3 separate regions of the Homo sapiens genome follow, and regions 1 and 3 are each linked to region 2. The links are contacts of gene promoters, found by promoter capture Hi-C in blood cells and fetal thymus (Javierre and others, 2016). All regions are on one chromosome and are shown on one strand. Each heading gives the region's core, a stretch centred on a gene start or on the middle of the fragment in contact. The rest is flanking DNA. Distances are from core to core; before and after follow the strand shown. Region 1 overlaps KPNA6 (karyopherin subunit alpha 6). Region 2 holds the start of FAM229A (family with sequence similarity 229 member A). Region 3 overlaps TXLNA (taxilin alpha).

The links. Contacts are between HindIII fragments. The CHiCAGO score rates a contact against its expected background, and 5 or more counts as called.
Region 1: a contact is called between a fragment that was not itself captured here and the fragment with the promoter of FAM229A in region 2, in 1 of 17 cell types (naive CD8 T cells). The highest score is 5.4, in naive CD8 T cells.
Region 3: a fragment that was not itself captured here is called in contact with the fragment with the promoter of FAM229A in region 2 in 2 of 17 cell types (non-activated CD4 T cells and naive CD8 T cells); the score reaches 8.2 in non-activated CD4 T cells.

Annotation. Positions count from the first base shown.
Region 1 is chr1:32,157,693-32,162,558 of GRCh38, reverse strand. KPNA6 (karyopherin subunit alpha 6) reads right to left here. Exons shown (of 14, transcript NM_012316.5): 5 at 4,198-4,292; 6 at 3,028-3,159; 7 at 1,856-1,944; 8 at 513-612; 9 at 35-198. Among named protein-coding and RNA genes, the nearest start is that of TXLNA, 20 kb to the left of the region's middle. The HindIII fragment of the contact is 1,103 bases long and covers 879-1,981 here.
Region 2 is chr1:32,360,667-32,365,109 of GRCh38, reverse strand. It overlaps FAM229A (family with sequence similarity 229 member A), which reads left to right and starts at 2,625. Exons shown (of 3, transcript NM_001167676.2): 1 at 2,625-3,152; 2 at 3,234-3,380; 3 at 3,575-3,840. The coding sequence starts at 3,019. The coding sequence ends at 3,677. TSSK3 (testis specific serine kinase 3) reads right to left here and starts at 2,571. Exons shown (of 2, transcript NM_052841.4): 1 at 2,264-2,571; 2 at 798-1,515. The coding sequence starts at 2,408. The coding sequence ends at 854. It overlaps LOC124903933 (a long non-coding RNA gene), which reads right to left. Exons shown (of 3, transcript XR_007065642.1): 3 at 3,782-4,443. It overlaps BSDC1 (BSD domain containing 1), which reads left to right. Exons shown (of 11, transcript NM_018045.8): 11 at 1-477. RefSeq lists silencers at 2,694-2,893, 3,044-3,343. The HindIII fragment of the contact is 11,112 bases long and covers 1-4,443 here.
Region 3 is chr1:32,183,821-32,188,133 of GRCh38, reverse strand. TXLNA (taxilin alpha) reads right to left here. Exons shown (of 11, transcript NM_175852.4): 4 at 3,518-3,609; 5 at 10-180. Among named protein-coding and RNA genes, the nearest start is that of TXLNA, 6.3 kb to the right of the region's middle. The HindIII fragment of the contact is 2,923 bases long and covers 60-2,982 here.

The DNA.
Region 1 (4,866 bases), core at 181-2,680, 200 kb after region 2:
AGCCAGAACCTGTACCCCTTCTAAGACCACTCACATCAGCAGCTCTACCAATCTCCGGCAGACTCCGGAGTCTATGACTGCCTGGATCTTCTCATTGGGGCCATCAGACAGATAAGAAAGGGCCCAGCAAGCATCTGCCAGCAAGTCCGAGTCGCTGCTGAAGAGTAGGCGAGACAGTACAGGCAAACAAGGAGAGACCTGTGGGAAGCAGAGTGAGAAAGACTCACAGGGGAACAAGACTATATCAGCTCTATCACGAACCCTAACATTGCAACCACCGCCCCCACAATACACACACACAAGTAATTCCAGACCCTAGGGATCGCTACTACATTAAACATTTGGGTCTACCTTTTCACTTTACTATCCAGGTACACAAGATCATCTACTTCACTAACAATTGCTTCTTTCAGTTTCCCATGATTTGAGACTCCAAGGAGTATCCCAAAGACTTAAAAACTCCATATGAAGGAACCTGATGTCACTCAGGGTCTAGTAAGTAGCTCTCTCACCTTTGCAAACTCTGGGGGTGGGTTTTTCCCTCGGCAGAGATTTGACAGGGCCCAGACTGCATTCCGTGTCATCGTCAGTCGTGTGGACTTGGTAAGGAGTCTGAAGGAAACAGCAAAGCCAGATCCTGAGCACTGAGGCCTTGGCATAGGACTGTTGCCAATGAACCCAGAGACAAATCCAATGAGACCTCTCAGACTCTAGCAGCCTGTTTCTTCCTACTCACAGACCTAAGTTAATAGAGCTGGTATAGGTTAGGAGGCCAGGCTCTATACAGAGTATTCATTTCAGGACCAGCTGTGGCTAGTTAATACCATAGATAATAGGGACGAAACAGAGGGCTAGATCTGGAGTAAGCCTGTAAAGCTTCTAAAGTGGGATATATCATGCCCATAACCCTGGCCACAAGTCCAGGACAAGGAATGGTGTTCTCTGGAAATAAAAGCTAAAAGTCTAAGAAATAAAAGCTATAGGTCTACTGTGAGAGCTTTAGCCACACAGTATGGAATAATTTTCTGTGAAGGGTCCAAGAAAGTGACAGTGGTAGGCTATGAGACTGTGGTCTCTGAAGAACAGTTCATTCATCTGTTTTGGTTTAGGCATAGTTTACTCTAAGGGTACGGAGGGAAGGATGGGAGAAGGATACAATGACGCTTCACGGGGTCTTTGATCTATAATTTACGACAGAGCTGTCCGATGTATGTATGCAAAACCCCATAACAAATCAATGCATTTTGTAGAGAAGGTTGGATTTTTCCAGGTGGGCTAGTCCTGCCTCTCTCCCCTGGCTCAACAATGAGGAGGATATGAGGATATGACTAACATGAGGTTCTGCAGTGCCATGAAGTGAGGAACAAGATCCTTTTTGGCAGATGGGTGGCACAATCTTTTTTTTTTTTCACTCTTTTGCCCAGGCTGAAGTGCAGTGGTGTGATCAATCACAGCTCACTGTAGCCTTGATCTCCCTGGGCTCAGGTGATCCTCCCTGCCTCAGCCTCCCAAGTAGCTGAGTCTACAGGTGCCTGCCACCACACCTGGCTAACTTTTGTATTTTTTGTAGAGTTGGGGTTTCACCATGTTGCCCAGGCTGGTTTTGAACTCTAGGCTCAAGGGATCCACCTGCTCTGGCCTACCAAAGTGCTGGGATTACAGGCATAAGCCACCATGCCCGGCCACAACCTTCTCAATCTCCAAAGATACCTATCTTTTACTTTGGCAATCAGAATGCATTTTTATAGTTTTTGCACTTACCTATCATCTTAAGGAATCAAGTATGCTGCCCCCAAATGACCTGCCACGTGGCCACCCAGTAGACGCCCAGGTACAGATGATTATAATTACTCACGTTAACAAAGGATTAAGGATGGAACAGTTCAAGACGTAATCTCGGCAAACAGAGCTATCTCCAGCTATGTTTCCCAGTGCCCAGACTGCCTGAAAAGGGGATAATGAAACTGTCACCCACAAAGCTTGGTACTCCTGTGAGTACTTTATAGCCACAACTGCAAAGTGAGTACCCACCAGGATGAGAATGATGTCAAGGCCCCAAATATACTACACAAGCTCAGGTAACCTCCCTATTGAAATTCTTACTGAGCACTTGTTCTACAATGACCTATCCCTGGGAGTTCCTGGTTCAGCAGGGAAAGACAGGCTGCCATCTGTACTATAGCCACAGAAGCCAAAACAATATCGCCCAGAAAAGGAGAAAGTAATCAGAAAGTTGCATTTTTTTTTTTTTTTTTTTTTGAGACGGAGTCTCGCTCTGTCACCCAGGCTGGAGTGCAGTGGCACAATCTCTGCTCACTGTAACCTCCACCTCCCGGGTTCAAGTGATTCTCCTGTCTCAAGCCTCCTGAATAGCTGGGATTACAGGTAAGCTCCACCATGCCCAGCTAACTTTTTAGTATTTTTAGTAGAGATGGAGTTTCACCATGTTGGTCAGGCTGGTCTTGAACTCCTGACCTCGTGATCTGCCCACCTCGGCCTCCCAAAGTGCTGGGATTATAGGCGTGAGCCACCGCGCCTGGCGAAAGTTGCACTCTTGTAGCTGCCTTGGACCAAGTCTATAAAAGAGCCCACTACCACTCTCCAATTCTATCCAACTAGTAAGAATTCAATGGGAGAAATGGAAGTTGTATCTTTATCTCCATGATTTGTGGGTACTCAGATATGGGTACTGTGGTGTCTTTTTTCCAATGGCACTTCCAACAACAAATGTATAGAGTTTTTTCCACATCAACCACCCATTCTCTGATACCAACCATGTGTCCAACGATTTAATTCAATTCTGACTCTAACACCTAGAGTTAATGCAGAGTCCGCAGGTTAGTCCCACAAGACTGCCCCAACTTGAGATACCAGTTGCAAGTCCCAGGGGCCATCTGTACTTGACACCCCTATCACTCAGGAAATTCCAAGAGTTTTAACACTGTGCCAAGAACCAGGACAAAGACCAAATATATTTTTTATTATACCACAGGTACTATAAAGAATCACACCAAATCTAAGCATTACCTGTTCCTGAACATCCTCAAAGTCTGAATTAAGCAGCTCTATAAAAATGGGGACAGCCCCTGCTTCAATGACAATTTTGGTCTGCTGAGAGGTTCCAGAGGCAATATTCGTTAGAGCCCAGGCAGCTTCAAACTGAAAGTGAGATTAAGCAATGATTGAAAGGTCATTTCAGACTGAGCAGCCATGCCTATCAGCTGGCTCAGAACAGTAAGCCTCCTGCCCATGAATTTAAAAAACCAAAACAAAACCTCACAAAACACAAGCAAGCCTCTTGCCCACGAATTTAAAACACACACACATAAAATACAAGCCTTTCCCCTCCCGTCTTTAGAGAGTGGGAAGATGCAGTGATGTGATATAGATGAGAATAAGACATTGGGCTTCCAGGGTCCCAGGTTTAGTCCTGCACTACCACAACACCCATGCATCCTTTGCCAGGTCACTCTTTTATTTCCTGAGCTTCACTTTCTTCATTTCTGAAATGAGGATTAGAATGAAATGGGTCTCTCAAAGTCCCTTTCAGCTGAGTTCTGGCAAGTTCCAATGGATTGACCCATCACCCATCTCTGAAACAAGAGACCCAGAGAGGCTAAACAATTTGCCTCAGGTCACACAGGTAGTGGACTATAGCCTCTGATTTATAACTGAATGATCAGTCTATCATAGTCTGGTGCCTTTCCTTTGAAATTGTTTTAAGGAAGAGATTCTGGCTGTGAGGGAACTGATGGTTTCTCCTGAATGTTTCCTAACATTACTTTTGAACTTCCTGAGAGATATGTCAATAGAAGTATCCCACTGCAATTTCTTGGAAGTAGGGCTTTCATCTAATAACCCCTTCCCAGTAGTGGGGGACTGGGGGTGGGATGGGGATAAGTAATGGGTACAAAAAAACCCAGAAAGAATTAATAAGACCTACTATTTGGTAACACAATAGGGTGACTATAGTCAATAATAACTACACAATTTAAAATAACTTAAAGTGTATAATTGGATTGTTTGTAACTTAAAGGATAAATGCTTGAGGAAATGGATACCCCATTCTCCATGATTTGCTTATTTCAAATTGCATGCCTGTGTCAAAACATCTCATGTATCCCATAAATATATATACCTACTATGTATCCCCCAAAAATTAAAAGACAAAACAAACCCCTTCCCTTCAGGCCTCACCTGTAATGTACAATTCTCATTCCTCTTCAGAAACTCCACGAACCGATCCACCACTCTTGGAGTGTTGATAACTTCATCTATTGGAGGACTAGGCTCTGGATAAGGGAGAAGGGAAAATAAAAACACAGGAGAAGCTTTTGCTGATCCCTTCATGGGGGTCAGCTTGCAATCCTTCTTAGACACTTCTGACCACCCTTACAAACATTCCCAAACTCCCTTCTGGTAAGGTGGTTTTAACAATATCTACTCGTCTTTGAACTGTATAATACAGCTGGAATGTTAAAGAGTAAAGCCAATCCTAATTTAAGAATGTTCATCTTTGGCTTACTAAATGTAAGCAAAGAAAGGTGTGGGAGAGAGAACCACCTAAGGGATGAACAACCATGGTCTGCACATTTCCCTTTCAAGAAAGACCAGTACTCTCTTCTTGGGAAGACTATTTGATATACTGAAACAAGAGGTATTTTTCCAATCATACATTAAATTTTTTTATTAAGTACCTATGGTGTGCCACACAGTTCTAGGTACAGAGGACACAGGAGGGAACAAAAACAAAAGTCTCTGCCCTCAGAGAGTTTATATCCTAGTGGGAAGAGTCATTTTATTATGTTAGAAGATAAATATAATGGGGGGAGAGGAGGAGAATATGTAGGGCAAGGTAAAAAGATA
Region 2 (4,443 bases), core at 1,376-3,875:
GCTGAAAGGTGTCTGGGGGTCTGTTTTTGTCCCCTTGGCAGCTGCACTGGGCCAGGGCAGGACTGGCTTCCCACTTGGAGCCAGAGACAGGGTAGGGGGATAGCCTAGGTCCAGAGGACGTACCTTGTCCTCATCCCAGATTCAGCTTTGCCTTTGGGATGAGAAAGGGTCAGGGCTCGCAACAGGCCTCTCACTGGGACAAGGAGTCGGGAGGCCATCTCTGCACTCCCAGTGCCTCTGCTTTCCTTTGGAAAGGAAGTTGCAACAAGAATGGCTTCAGTTGCTCTTGGTCATTTTTATCCTCTCTTCCCCCTGTTTGTATATGATTCTTGGGTCTATTTTAATTAACTTTAGTATGAAAATCACTTGTCATGCCAGGCGCAGTGGCTCATGCCTGTAATCCCAACATTTTGGGAGGCCAAGGTGGGTGGATCACTAAGGTCAGGAGTTCCAGACCAGCCTGGCCAACATGGTGAAACCCCATCTCTACTAAAAATACAGAAATAGCCAGGCGTGGTGGGAGGTGCCTGTAATCCCAGCTACTGGGGAGGCTGAGGCAGGAGAATCGCTTGAACCTGGGAAGCAGAGTTGCAGTGAACTGGAATCGTGCCACTGCATTCCAGCCTGGGCGACAGAGCAAGACTCTTAAAAAAAAAAAAGGAAGTCTGAATGAGGCCCTTTGATTCCATGAAGATCTCTAAAAGGAAAGAGTAGTAGTAAGGCTGGGGTAGATGTAGGTAAGTTTTAGGATAAGTAAACTTAAAGCGTAAAATATATATCACCATTTTAGAAGCGGGTTTTTGGGTTTGCTTTCTCCCCCTACTTTATTGGAGAGCACTTGCCATTGCTTTTATCAAGTGCTTGCTAGCCATGGATGCCAACTAACTTCTTCAATTGAAGGCCGGAGGATCATATCGGGTTCCAGGAGCCTCTTGAGCAGGTCCTGGCAATCGGCCGAGATGCTCAGATGAGTGGGGAAGGACACCCCCTTCTGCTGCTGCCACAGCATCTTGGGGATGTCTGTGTCGTCAAAAGGTAGGCTGGCACAGAGCATGACATACAGGACCACACCCATGCTCCAGACATCACCTTTTTTGCTATCGTGGGGAATGCCCTGCAGCACCTCGGGGGCAGCATAGGCTGTACTGCCGCAGAAGGTCTGGCTCAGCTCCCGGTGTGACTTGGGCAACACCTTGGCAAAGCCAAAGTCAGTCAGCTTCAGGTTGAAGCCCTGCAACAAGGCGTTCTCACATTTGAGGTCCCGGTGGGCCACACCACAGCCATGGCAGTAGCGGATGGCCTCAACCATCTGACGGAAGAGGGCCTTGGCCCGGCTTTCAGGCAGTGGCCCCCCATTCAGCACGCAGTCAAAGACATCCCCTCCCTCAGCGAGCTCCATCACCAGGCAGATTTTCCCGTCGGCAGACTCCAGCATCTCATACACCTGGATGATGTTCTTGTGGTCCAGGGTACGGACGATTTGGAGCTCCCGAGGGAGGAATCTCTGGATAAACTCTGAGGAAGTAAGGGGAGGAGAGATGGGCTGGCAGATCAGAAAGGCCCACCTCCTCACACCTGTCTCCTGCCTTCCAACTTCTGCCCACCTTGTCTGGGTCTTATTTCTTGGCTTTCTTAATGGTCTTAAGTGTGTCTAGCTGCTTGGACATTGCAAAGAATGTTCACTTCTATTATTTTTGTCGTTAGTATATCATTCAAAAGAAGCACTCCCCACCAGCCTTGTGGACTGTTGTGAGCAGTCTGTGAGACTGGATATCAAGGTGCTTTAGGGACTTTTAGACAAAGCCACAGAATCACAAATTATAAGGCCTGATTTGTCCACAGGGTGGTGAGCCAGCTCCTCCCGCCACTGTCCCCTGACCCCACAATTCTTTCCATGAGCCCTGTCTTCCTTTTTCCCATCTCCACGGGCCTTGGCACCAGCCCCTGTTCTCTACCAGCCCTGGTTGTGGCCTCTGCCAGTCTCTGTTCCCCTGCCGGAAAGGAAAGCCTGGCTCAGGTTTTGCCTCTGAGGATCCTTCACCTCATGCCACTTTCATCTTGCATTCTGGGGGGGTGTAATGTTCCTGGACTCCCAGAACCCCTCTGTTCCCCACTGACCCACTCCAGAGCTGCCATCGGGCTTGCTTGGTTCCAGGCCAGCGGGAGCAGGGAATGATCGAATGATCGTTCTAACAAACAGGAGGAAGCACCCACCCACCTCAGCCAGTCCTCCCTCCTTCCCTCCAAAGGGGCCCCGGCTCACCTTCTGGCCCTCCCATCTTGTCTATAACTTTAATTGCCACTTTTCTTTGGTGTTTTTTGGAAAATGCTTCTTTGACTTTTGAGTAGGTCCCTTCCCCAATGGTCTTGCCCAGCTGGTACCCATTGGAGAGCAGAAAGTCCTCCATGCTGTCTAGCGCCGCCTTCCTATCACCCTCTCAGCTCATGCTGCCTCTGAGAGGCAGCTCTACTCCACCATCGCCCTTGGCCTGCTCCTTTTCTCCCCAAGGACTTCATCCGCAGCCGCCCCCAGCGTTAGAACATTCTCTGTCTGGACACAGCGGCGGGTGGTGGGGAGGGACAGGGCCAGACATTTTTAAACTCCGGTGCAATTGTGATGTAGATGCTGTGTGACCCTTGGCCAAAATGGGCAGTGCCCCTACCTGCCCTCACTACCACCACCAAACTCAGCCCGGATTAAGTCACCGCCGAGCCCGCCCCCGTGCCAGGCATTGAGTTGTAGTCCCGCCTGGGAGGGCGCTCCGCCGCGTCTGTGTGGACCGGGAATGCGCGGCTCCTCGGCGTGGACGCCGCCTCGCGGCGGGTTGCCCTGGCCTGCTGCGCCCCCCTCGGGTGTCCGGGGTCTGCGCGACCCCGTCTCCAGGCGCCATGGCCAGAGGCCTCCAGTCCCCGATTCTGGCCCGCGCTGAGTGCCAGGGGCGGCAGGGGGCACCGTTGGGGGTTCTCCAGTGGGAGGAACGTGCTCTGTGAGGTCAGCGCGCCGCGGCCCGGGTCACAATGCTGCCCTCCTCGACGCCCGGGCCCGGGCACGCCACAGAGACCTGCCCGGCTCCGCCTGGACCGGAGCGTTCTCCCGCGGCCAGGGCTCCGGCAGCTGCTTCTAGCCTGGGACCGGTCTCAACCGCCGGGAGGTGAGCGACGGCCCAGGGGGCGGGCGCGAGGCGGCGGCGCCCGGCGACCCGGGAGAGGCCTGACCGCCACTCCCCGCGCAGAGCGCCCCGGGGCTTGGACATGAGCGCCCAGGAGCCCCCGCAGGGTCGGAGATTCCCCATTGAGGCCGGAGACTCCCGTGGCCTTGCCGCCGCCCCCGAGTCCCAGGACAGCCCGGAGGCGGTAGCGACGGAGCACAACCCGGTCAGGTAAGGCCCGCGCCCCACCCCCGCCTCCGCCCGTCCCGCGGCCCCGCCCTCCGTCCCACTTGGCGCCCCCAGCAGTCAGGACCCCGCATCCACGTCCGGACCCCCGGGGACCCCAGGTGCACTCCCTGGGTGCGCCCCACAGGATGGGCCAAGCCCCTGCCTCAGCGGCCCCTGTCGCGCGTCAATTTCCCCAGGCCGCTTCGTCGCTGCCCTGGATGCCACTGCCTGACGCTGCTGCACGTGCCCATCGACGTCTACCTCGCCATGGGCGGGAGCCCCCGGGCCCGCGCCACGTGAGTGCGCCTGCTCCCTGCGGCTCCGCGGGAGCTGGGCGGGAACGAGGCCCCCAGCGGGCCACCACGCTGAGGTCGCATGCGCCGAGCACGAGACAATGATGCACATTTTAAAATAAAAGAATGATGCACATTTTAATAAAGCACAGCACAAACTGTTCTTTCCACTCCGGGCTGGCAGTGTATGTCTATCCGTCGGGCCCACCAGCTGCTCTGCCCAGTCCAATAACACTTTCCCTTCCGCAGCCTCCTCGTTTGGACCCAGCCTTAGGGGCCCGCCCTTCCGCCTTTCAACCTACGCCACTTCACTCCTCTCGTATCTTGCTGGTCCTGACCCCTCCTGGGCAGCCTTTCCCTTGGGCCCTGCCCTGGTCCATCTCTCTAACCCTCTGGTGATTCTCCGGTGAAATTCACATCACTGTGCTGGACCCTGGCAACCCACAGAAGCGGGGAACAGGAGGAAGAGGTGGACCGACAAGTAACATAGAATACAGCCATAGGCCACCCACACCAGGCTATCTATCTATCTTATCTATCTATCATCTATCTATCTATCTATCTATCTATCTATCTATCTATCTATCTATCTATGAGATGGAGTCTCGCTCTGTTTCCCAGGCTGGACTGCAGTGGCATGATCTCTGTTCACTGCAACCTCTGCCTCCCAGGTTCAAACAATTCTCCTGCCTCAGCCTCCCAAGTAGCTGGGACTACAGGCACCCGACCAGACCCATTTTAATCCTCTCGAGCGAGAAGTTCTGCGACAAAGT
Region 3 (4,313 bases), core at 272-2,771, 180 kb after region 2:
CAGGCCTACCTTGAGGGAGCGGTTGTGCCGCTGCAGCTCACGGCATAGGCTCTCAAGCTTGCTGCGGGCCAGGACGGCCTTGCTGTGCTCACCGCGCAGGTGGTCCTTCTCTTGCACCAGCTGGCTCTGCTTTTTCTGTAGGAGCTTCATCTGCTTCTGTGAATTCCGGTGCTCCTCCAGCTGGGGACAGGGATAGGGAGGGCAGGTGAGCATCTTGTGGGGCCTTCCTGGTGGGGGGATCACTATGCAGGTCTAGGGTCTCCTGAGCTGCCCTGACCCTTACCCTCTCAGGCCAGGAGCACTCTCATGGGCTGATGCTGTGCCGGTGCTTACACGCTCCTCCCATGAACTCACAATAACCCCAAAGGCTCCACCGTAGGGACAGAGAAATGGTAACTCACTAGGGCAAGCAGGGGCCACACAGCCAGCAGATGCCAATTCCTATTCCAGCTCTGACTCTGGGCCACTAGAGCCACTTCAAGCTGTTGCATTTCCCCAACTTGCTGGACACTCATGCCCGAGGATGAGACCACCTGCTACCGTACCTTGTGCCTATTAACAGACAGACCCCCATCGCTCCCTCGCATTCCTTCAAAACGTTAGCGCTGCGTTCATCAGCGCTCTCCCCAACACAATTACTTTTCTCATTTGTGGCCACTTCAGTATCAACAGATAATCCTTCTAACTCCCTGGCCTCACAGTCCATCACCTCTTCCACAAACCCACTCCTTTCCCCAGCTCAGTTCCCCTCCCATGACCCTATCCAGGCCTGTACAACAGAAATATAATGCAAACCACATAAGTAATTAAAAATATTCTACTGGCCGCACTAAAAAAGTAAAAAACAGGTGAAATTAATTTTAGTAATATATGTATTTAACCTAATATCCAAAACATTACAATTTCAACACGGAATCAATGTAAAAAAGTGAGGCCGGGAGTGGTGGCTCATGCCTGTAATCCCAGCACTTTGGGAGGCTGAGGCAGGCAGATCACTTGAGGTCAGGAGTTCAAGACCAGCCTGGCCAACATGGTGAAACCGTTTCTACTAAAAAAAAAATACAAAAAAGTAGCCAGTTTGGTGGCATGCGCCTGTAATCTCAGTTACTCAGGAGGCTGTGAGGCAGGAGAATCGTTTGAACCTGGAAGCAGGACATCACGCCACTGCACTCCAGCCTGGGTGACTGAGACACTCTCTCACAAAAAGATGTTTTATATTCTTTGTTTTTGCTTAAGTCTTCAAAAGCTGATGTGTATCTTACATTTATAGCATGTTCAAATTCAAACTGGCCACATGTCAATTAGCTAGAGACGAATTTATCTTGGACAGCGCAGATCTAGACTTTGTCACTACCAGAGAGCACACCCACTATCTCAATTTCCAGCATCCCAGTCCAGGACTACCATCACCTATCTTTTTAGCTCATTCCAATCAGTATCTGTGATCCTCAGAAAGTCTCTTACCCTATAGGACCTCCAATCCATTGACTCAACCATCCTTCCACTCTCCTTTAAAATAACTACATTACCTGGCTTGGATTTCTTACACCCTCAACTCTCTTGGCCCTTCCCCAGTAGTACTGCAACCCTAGTAAAGCACCTTCCTGCTTTACACCAGTACTATAACAACCCTACTTGAAGAGTCTCACTTTAAATTCATGGCCACCAATTTCAGGAAGACCAGCAATCCCAATACAATGCATATGCTATTCACACTCCTCTCCTTCCAGACAACTATTTCATCGTTCTCATCAAATCTCAAAACACAGAAGAAACTAGAGAATCAGGGGCACAAGCTGCACATCTACCAGTCCACCTGCCCCGTCCTCTCCTCCAGTCACACAGACCTAGCCATGTGGTTACCACAGCCAAGCCCCCTTCTTGGGCAGGCCTCAGCTCCCCTCCTCTACTCACAACACCACTCTAGCAACTCATTTCCTCTCTTGCATCAGCAATTTTCCCCTGGCTGGATCACTCCAAAAGGGTGCTTATCTTCCTTATACCTTTTATTTAATCCTTACAAGAATGTCATTAGGCAGGTATGACATTCCCCATTTTAAAGATGAGTAAAGTTCCTTACAGGAAAATATTAATAAATGTGTGTGGAATGAATTAATTTTAAAATAAATACTTAGAGGCCAGGCACAGTGGCTCACACCTGTAATCCCAGCACTTTGGGAGGCTGAGACGGGCGGATCACGAGGCCAAGAGATCAAGACCATCCTGGCCAACATACTGAAACTCTGTCTCTACTAAAACATACAAAATTTAGCCAGGCATGGTGACATGCACCTGTAATCCCAGCTACTCGGGAGGCTGAGGCAGGAGACTCGCTTGAACCTGGGAGGTGGAGGTTGCAATGAGCCGAGATCGCGCCACTGCACTCCAGCCTGGTGACAGAGCGAGACTCTGACTCTGAATAAATAAATAAATAGGCCAGGCGTGGTGGCTCAAGCCTGTAATCCCAGCACTTTGGGAGGCCGAGGCGGGCGGATCACGAGGTCAAGAGATCGAGACCATCCTGGCTAACACGGTGAAACCCCGTCTCTACTAAAAAAAAAAAAAAAAAAAAAAATAGCCTAGCATGGTGGCGGGCGCCTGTAGACCCAGCTACTCGGGAGGCTGAGGCAGGAGAATGGCATGAACCCAGAAGGCGGAGCTTGCAGCGAGCCGAGATCGTGCCACTGCACCCCAGCCTGGGCGACAGAGCAAGACCCCGTCTCAAAAAATAAATAAATAAATAAATACATACATACATACATACATACATACATACACAGGCTGTGACCATCAATGGATAAATCTGTTAGTTCAAATTCTGACAAGGGACCTGATGATGGAAGAATCTGGCTGCCCCACCCCCAACCCACTGAACAATGTTACAACAAAGTGGGAAGAGCATGCTTTGCATTTATTGTGATGGAACATGAAGTACTTATGAAGAATTCTTGTCAAAAAGTTGAAGCTGAATTGGATCAAGCTTTAGAGCTAACTTCTACTTCACTTACATGTACCAGGAGGTAAAGAAGTAAAATGATACCACAGAGATGACAAAGCTAGAAGGGGGCATCCTACAAGACAGCTAGTCTAGTTTCTGTTAAAAGTCAATGTCATGGGGAATATGAGGAGGCAGTGACAAGAAGACTGCTCTGGAGTAAAAGGAAAAAGTATCAAGTGACTAGTGTTAGTTTTATTAACTGTGATAATGGCTCTATGCATCTGTATTTGAGGAAGAAGCATCAAGATCACAAGGTGTCTTGGACTCAGGCCAGGAACAAGGGCTCTACCACCTTGGAATCATTCTTTGAGAAATTTCTTTCAAGGAATATGCAGTTTCTCCTCTTGCTGCACAGCCCTGAAGAGGCTGGCTGGAAGTGATTCCCCATTTAACAGATAGTTCAGAGAAAAGCTGAACAGGAATTAAGCCACCTACTTGACTCTGCACCCCCAACCTTACACCAGGTGGCATGCTGATTTTCCCAACGCAGGGAAGGTGCCCGCGGAGGGGGGAACTGACCAGTTCAGCATACTTCTTGCACAGAGCAGCCAGCTTCTCCTCTGGGGTACTCAGAGTATTCAATGTCTGCATCAGCAACGTGATCTCCTTCCCTGAAAAGCACAGGAGCAAAGACATGCACCCTCTTCTCCAGGTGTCCCCTCCAGGCCTGGGCTCACACTCATGAGTGCTGAAGACAGCCCTCCCCATCATACTTTATATTTTGCTTGTTGATTAGCTGCCTTCCTTGCCATAAGGACCAACTCAATCCTGCCCTCACTATAGCCCCAGTACTGTCCATAGTACCATCACAGAGGATATGCTCAACAAATGCTTATCAAATGAACGACTGTACCCTAGTGAAATCTCCTTAGTAGGCACCATTGGCAGGAGAAAAAAACTGCCTGCTCTACCAATAGAAGAAAGGTGTCCCACTTATGAATTCAGGGCTACTGTTTCATACTGTTTCAATGCAAGGAAGGCCCACCCTCCTGATAGAGGTAGGATCCAAAAAGGAATAGGTATCTTAGCCTCCTTGAGAAATACTAAACTCTTGTCAACAGAGTAGCCAAACAGTGAACTTTAAAATGAAGATACTTTCGGCCAGGCAAGGTGGCTCATGCCTGTAATCCCAGCACTTTGGGAGGCCGAGGCAGGCGGATCACGAGGTCAAGAGATCGAGACCATCCTAACATGGTGAAACCCCATCTCTACTAAAGACATACACAAAAAAATTAGCTTGGTGTGGTGGCACGCGCCTGTAGTCCCAGTTACTCCGGAGGCTGAGGTAGGAGAATCGCTTGAACCCAGGAGGCGG